2 separate regions of the Homo sapiens genome follow, and region 2 is linked to region 1. Evidence: promoter capture Hi-C in 16 types of primary human blood cells and fetal thymus (Javierre and others, 2016). All regions are on one chromosome and are shown on one strand. The core of a region is centred on a gene start or on the middle of the fragment in contact, and the rest is flanking DNA. Distances in the headings are between cores, read along the strand shown. Region 1 holds the start of CCDC13 (coiled-coil domain containing 13). Region 2 overlaps NKTR (natural killer cell triggering receptor).

The links. Contacts are between HindIII fragments. The CHiCAGO score rates a contact against its expected background, and 5 or more counts as called.
Region 2: a contact is called between a fragment that was not itself captured here and the fragment with the promoter of CCDC13 in region 1, in 1 of 17 cell types (M2 macrophages). The highest score is 7.2, in M2 macrophages.

The regions. Positions count from the first base shown.
Region 1 is chr3:42,771,612-42,774,670 of GRCh38, forward strand. CCDC13 (coiled-coil domain containing 13) reads right to left here and starts at 1,642. Exons shown (of 16, transcript NM_144719.4): 1 at 1,565-1,642. It overlaps CCDC13-AS2 (CCDC13 antisense RNA 2), which reads left to right. Exons shown (of 2, transcript NR_122070.1): 2 at 1,594-2,024. RefSeq lists a silencer at 1,363-1,522 and an enhancer at 1,653-1,822. The HindIII fragment of the contact is 4,325 bases long and covers 1-3,059 here.
Region 2 is chr3:42,635,083-42,638,141 of GRCh38, forward strand. NKTR (natural killer cell triggering receptor) reads left to right here. Exons shown (of 17, transcript NM_005385.4): 12 at 139-284; 13 at 1,786-3,059. The region is part of intron 1 of ZBTB47-AS1 (ZBTB47 and NKTR antisense RNA 1); the gene reads right to left. Among named protein-coding and RNA genes, the nearest start is that of ZBTB47, 17 kb to the right of the region's middle. RefSeq lists an enhancer at 3,011-3,059. The HindIII fragment of the contact is 475 bases long and covers 1,348-1,822 here.

The DNA.
Region 1 (3,059 bases), core at 392-2,891:
GGGCATGGTGGCATGTGCCTGTGTTCCCAGTTACTCAGGAGGCTGAGGTGGGAGGATTGCTTGAGCCCAGGGGTTGGAGGCTACTGTGAGCCATGATCATGCCACCGCACTCCAGCCTGGGTGACAAAGTGAGACCCTGTCTCAATACAGCAGCAGCAACAACAACAACAGATGAACTCTAATGTAAACTATGGACTTTAGTTAGTAATAACATACCAGTATAGTTGTATCAATGATAACAAATGTACCACACCAATGCAATGTGTAAGATGTTAACAACAGAGGAAATGGGAATACGGAATACATAAAGGAACTGTTTTTTGTTTAATGCTTCTAAAAATCTGCTTTAAGTCTATTTTCTTTTAAAAGTAAAGGCTAAGCCGGGCGTGGTGGCTCATGCGTGTAATCCCAAAACTTTGGGAGGCTGAGGTGGGTGGATCACCTGAGGTCAGGAGTTTGAGACCAGCCTGGCCAACATGGTGAAACCCCATCTCTACTAAAAATACCAAAATTAGCCAGGCATGGTGGCGGGCGCCTGTAATCCCAGCTACTCGAGCCCAAGGCAGGAGAATCGCTTGAACCTGGGAGGCAGAGGTTGCAATGAGCCAAGATCGCGCTACTGCACTCCAGCCTGGGCGATAGAGCGAGACTCCGTCAAAAAAAAAAAAAAAAAAAAAAAGTAATAATAAAAAAAATAAAGTAAAGGCTAGAGCTGCATGGAAAGAACTCTTGGCTCAGGTAGGACTTAGAGCCAGGGAGTAGGAAGAGTGGCATGCACTCTGGAGTCCTATGAGGAAGCAAGATCCCACAGGATATGGGACCATAGGTGACAGGGACCAGTGAGGAAGGATTGAGACCCCTTGCCCCATCGGCCTGCCACTTTTTTCATTGTTTTTCTCTTCCCCTCTCCTTCTCTTTCTTCTTTTCTTTTACTGTGTTCTTTTCGAGTATTCTCAACAACAGTCTAGGGGCCTGGAGGTGTGGGGAGGCCGCCCACGGATGCCTAGTTTGGCGCTCTGTGCACTGCTAGCATCTTCGTAGGGATGGGTTTGGGATGGGAGCGGGGTGATGCTCTGGTTCTCAGGGCTGGACTCCGGGCTTGGAGGGGAACTCCCTCTTGCGAGTCCCCAGTCCTGTGGGGGCTGGGCCTGGAAGGGGAACTGGGAGATGCGGAAGTGCACGCCGTCGGGTCGCATCTTTCAGTGCGGTGCGAGAGGGCCCAGTGGCAGAGGCCCAGCAAACAGCGCTTGTCAGGCGGACCTGAGTTCGAGTTCTGACTGTGCCATCTACGCTATGACTTTGGGGCAGGCGACCCACCCTCTGCGCCTCATTAACCCATGTACTGCATGGAAAATAAGCGTCTGCCTGGGTTAGAAGAGGGCTGTGTGTGAAGATTCAAAGGACGAAGGGGAAGAGTCCTCGCTGGGCGCCCAGCACGCGGTGAGCGCCCGGCCAGTGGCAGCGCGCTCGGGCTGGGGTTGCGCTCGGGCTCGGTTCCGCGCCCCCGGCAGCTGCGGGCTTTCCCAGCTCCGGCCCGGGCCCTTCCGCTCTCCCCGGCACTTACAGCGGTCTCTCTCCACTTCTCCCTTCTAGGACCGCGGCGGCTAGGTCACCTCCTCCGGACGCCGACACGCGCTGCCCTGGCAACCGTCACCAGGGAAACAAGCGACGTCACTTGCGCGTTTTCAACGCTACTCTACGGGGGCCGAGGGGGCGCCAAGAGTTCTGAAAGTGACAGAGGCGCTGATGGCGCGCTGGGCTGGATCCAAGCGAGCACGATCTCGAGTGCGCTGGAGATTTTAAATCTTCTGGAGTATATTTTTAAAAAAGTTTTGTGGACCAAACGTTCTGCACAGAGATGCCCATTCCGCTCTCCTGTTGGGGAGTTAAAAAGCGAACGATCTCACCATGAAATTTAAAGTAGCCATTCAGATATATTTGAAAAATGTAAAACAGTGTGGGGAAAGGCCATGTTATGATGGTGAGTGAAGGAAGCAGGACGCAATATAGCAATGCTAAATAAATAAAGTTGTGTTTATTTCAAACTAGGCACTAAAACAAGACCGAAATAGAAATATTAAAAGTGGTTATATTTGGGTGGTGGAATAGCAGTGCTGTGTTTTTATTTTTACACTTTAGAGAATTTTTAAAATAATGAACATCGTTTATTTTCATAAAGGAAAATACTTGTTTTTTTTTTTTTAAATGGCACCTTCCAATGTAAGACACTACTATATTTCAGGGCAATATGGGGGTGGGAGGCAAATTTCTAGGAAAGATGATTCAAGGGAGATTTCTTTCTATCTATCTATCTATCTAATCTATCTATCTATCTATGATAGAGTCTCGCTGTGTCGCCCAGGCTGGAGTGCAGTGGTGCGATCTCAGCTCATTGCAACCTCCATTTCCCAGGTTCAAGCGATTCTCCTGCCTCAGCCTCCTGAGTAGCTGGGATTACAGGCACCCGCCACCACACCTGGCTAATTTTTTTATTTTTAGTGGAGACGGGGTTTCACCATGTTGACCAGGCTGGTCTTGAACTCCTGACCTCAGGTGATCCGCCCACCTTGGCCTCCTAAAGTGCCGGGATTACAGGCGTGAGCCACAGCTCCTGCCCAAATATTTATCCAGGACTTCATAATTTGAAAACCTTGGCAGTTGTTTTTCTATTTTTTTTCCTCATAAGGTGAATGAATACCCATCCCATAGACATGCATACATAAGATACGGCACTAGACTGCCATCAGCACTGCAGGTATAAACCCGAAGTTTCCTGATAAAGGAAAAATGGATCTTTCCCGTTGGTCTCCAATTGCTGCCTGGTGAGCTGAGGGTGGGAGACGTATAATATACAGGTGGCAGCAAAGAGAGACAGGATAAAGAGTAGGATTCAGGTAGATGTGAGCCTCAAAGGATTAGGGTTTTTTTTAAATGGTGTGTGTAGTGGGGAGTATCATTCGTTTGCCTCATGACCACGATGGGACTATGTGGCATAGGAAAAGGAATAGCCAGGTCTACTTAGAGGGCTTCTGGAAAGCATGGATCCTAGCAGAAAGCCA
Region 2 (3,059 bases), core at 335-2,834, 140 kb before region 1:
TTTAGACCATCCTTTTGGTAACTTCAATCATTACCTTTGATGGGATGATCTGAGATTGGGTCTTTTACTTAACTCTGTCACATAGCAGACTGTCGTGGAGAGGCATTTTTTAAAATACTATTGTTTTTGTTTTTAAAGCGCTATCACACACCTCCAAGATCAAGATCCTGTTCTGAGTCAGATGATGATGACAGCAGTGAAACTCCTCCTCACTGGAAAGAGGAAATGCAGAGATTAAGAGCATATAGACCACCTAGTGGAGAAAAATGGAGTAAAGGAGATAAGTAAGAACTTTGAGTATAAGCACAATCCTGTGTCTGTTATATTTTAAATGTTAAAGGGATTGGATACAATTCTGGACTTTTCATTAAAGATTCAGTGAAAGATTCACAGTCAGACTGTGACCAAAGGAAATACATTTGGGACTACTTGATGAAAGTAGTACTGTTAACTAGTTGGGCTTTTAAATCAAAATCCTGTTTTCCTTAACAAAAACTATAAGCCTGTGTCTTTTAATGACCTCTTAGTCAATTTTAGAAATAATTAGGACTTAGAGGCCGGGCGTGGTGGCTCACGCTTGTCATCCCAGCACTTTGGGAGGCCGAGGCAGGCGGATCACGAGGTCAGGAGATTGGGACCACAGTGAAACCCCATCTCTACTAAAAATACAAAAAATTAGCCGGGCGTGGTGGCGGGTGCCTGTAGTCCCAGCTACTTAGAGAGGCTGAGGCAGGAGAATGGTGTGAACCCGGGAGGTGGAGCTTGCAGTGAGCTGAGATCGTGCCACTGCACTCCAGCCTGGGTGACAGAGCGAGACTCCGTCTCAAAAAAAAAAAAAAATAATTAGGACTTAGAAATTATATAGCAGATTCTTTCCTAGCCAGCCAGGTCACTGATGAGTTCATTGGTAAATAGGAAAACCTGCACTCGGTGTTCATGTTGACTGTTGATCGCAGAGACTTGCTTTTTTAGAAGTGTACACATCTCTTACCTTCAGTGATGTCCCACAGTTGAATATTTATTTTAGGAAGGGGATAGGCCCCAGAATAGCTAGTGAAAAATATACTAATGGGACCCTGTGTAATCTTCCATGGTAGTATTCTCTTTTTCTCTGGGGACATCCTGCAGAGTGGTTTGGAATTGTGAAAAGGAGGAAAAGGAATGCATCTGCTGTGTAGAAGCGGCTCAGACACAGTGGTGCTGAGGACTTTCAGTTCTGAGCCTTGACATTAACACTCAGATTGTAACCTGTATCTGTTTTTGTGTACTTTTTCCTCAATTTCTGTTTTAAGTAGTTTACAGTCTTAGGGGAAATCTGGATTACCTGTCTGAGGTGGAGAAAAAACAAGCTTCATGCTAGTTTCAAGCAGCTATCCTGCATCTTCAGAAAATCAACAAATTGTTTGAGACCTTGGTTTGACTCACCCTCAAAAACTGTCCTAGAGGCAGAGGGTTGTGAGCAGATAACAGCCAGGAACTCTTGTGATTTGAGTTCAGCAGTGTTCTTGTGATTAGTTGGTTTGCTTTTCAAAAACATTTTCCTAACAAATGTAAGGTTCTTTGCTTAGCTTAAAAAAAAAATCCTTTTGTAAGTGAATTTGTTAGTAGTTCTTAGTGTGTGTCTCTGAAAGTATAACAAGACCAGGCCTATAACTCTGATTCACGCTTCCTGCGTGTGCTTAAAGTGTTAATGGGGTCAAGAACTTTGTTGTTAACAAAGCTGTGTCTTAAGGTGTAGAAAACATGCTTATAAATCACCGCATGAATATTATGTCCTTTCTATAGGTTAAGTGACCCCTGTTCAAGCCGATGGGATGAAAGAAGCTTGTCTCAGAGATCCAGATCATGGTCCTATAATGGATATTATTCAGACCTTAGTACAGCAAGACACTCTGGCCACCATAAAAAACGCAGAAAAGAAAAAAAGGTTAAGCATAAAAAGAAAGGGAAAAAGCAGAAACACTGCAGAAGACACAAACAAACAAAGAAGAGAAGGATTCTTATACCGTCTGACATAGAATCCTCAAAATCTTCCACTCGAAGAATGAAATCCTCTTGTGATAGAGAAAGGAGTTCTCGTTCTTCCTCATTGTCATCTCATCACTCATCAAAGAGAGACTGGTCTAAATCTGATAAGGATGTCCAGAGCTCTTTAACCCATTCCAGCAGAGACTCATACAGATCAAAATCTCACTCACAGTCTTATTCTAGAGGAAGCTCAAGATCAAGGACTGCGTCAAAGTCCTCATCACATTCTCGAAGTAGATCAAAGTCCAGATCTAGTTCCAAGTCTGGGCACCGAAAGAGAGCATCAAAATCACCAAGAAAAACAGCTTCTCAGTTAAGTGAAAATAAACCAGTTAAAACAGAACCTTTAAGAGCAACCATGGCACAAAATGAAAATGTAGTAGTACAACCAGTTGTAGCAGAAAATATTCCTGTAATACCACTGAGTGACAGTCCCCCCCCTTCAAGATGGAAGCCTGGACAGAAACCTTGGAAGCCCTCTTATGAGCGAATTCAGGAAATGAAAGCTAAAACAACCCATTTGCTACCCATCCAAAGCACTTACAGTTTAGCAAATATTAAAGAGACTGGTAGCTCATCATCCTACCATAAAAGAGAAAAAAATTCGGAAAGTGATCAGAGCACTTATTCAAAATACAGTGATAGAAGTTCAGAAAGCTCACCAAGGTCAAGGAGCAGATCTTCTAGGAGTAGATCTTATTCCAGATCATATACAAGATCACGTAGTCTAGCTAGTTCACATTCAAGGTCTAGGTCTCCATCATCTAGATCTCATTCACGAAATAAATACAGTGATCATTCACAGTGTAGTAGATCATCTTCATATACTTCTATTAGCAGTGATGATGGAAGGCGAGCTAAGAGGAGACTTAGATCCAGTGGGAAAAAAAATAGCGTTTCACATAAAAAGCATAGCAGCAGCTCTGAAAAGACACTTCACAGTAAATATGTCAAAGGTAGAGACAGGTCTTCATGTGTGAGAAAGTATAGCGAGAGCAGATCATCTTTAGATTATTCTTCAGACAGTGAGC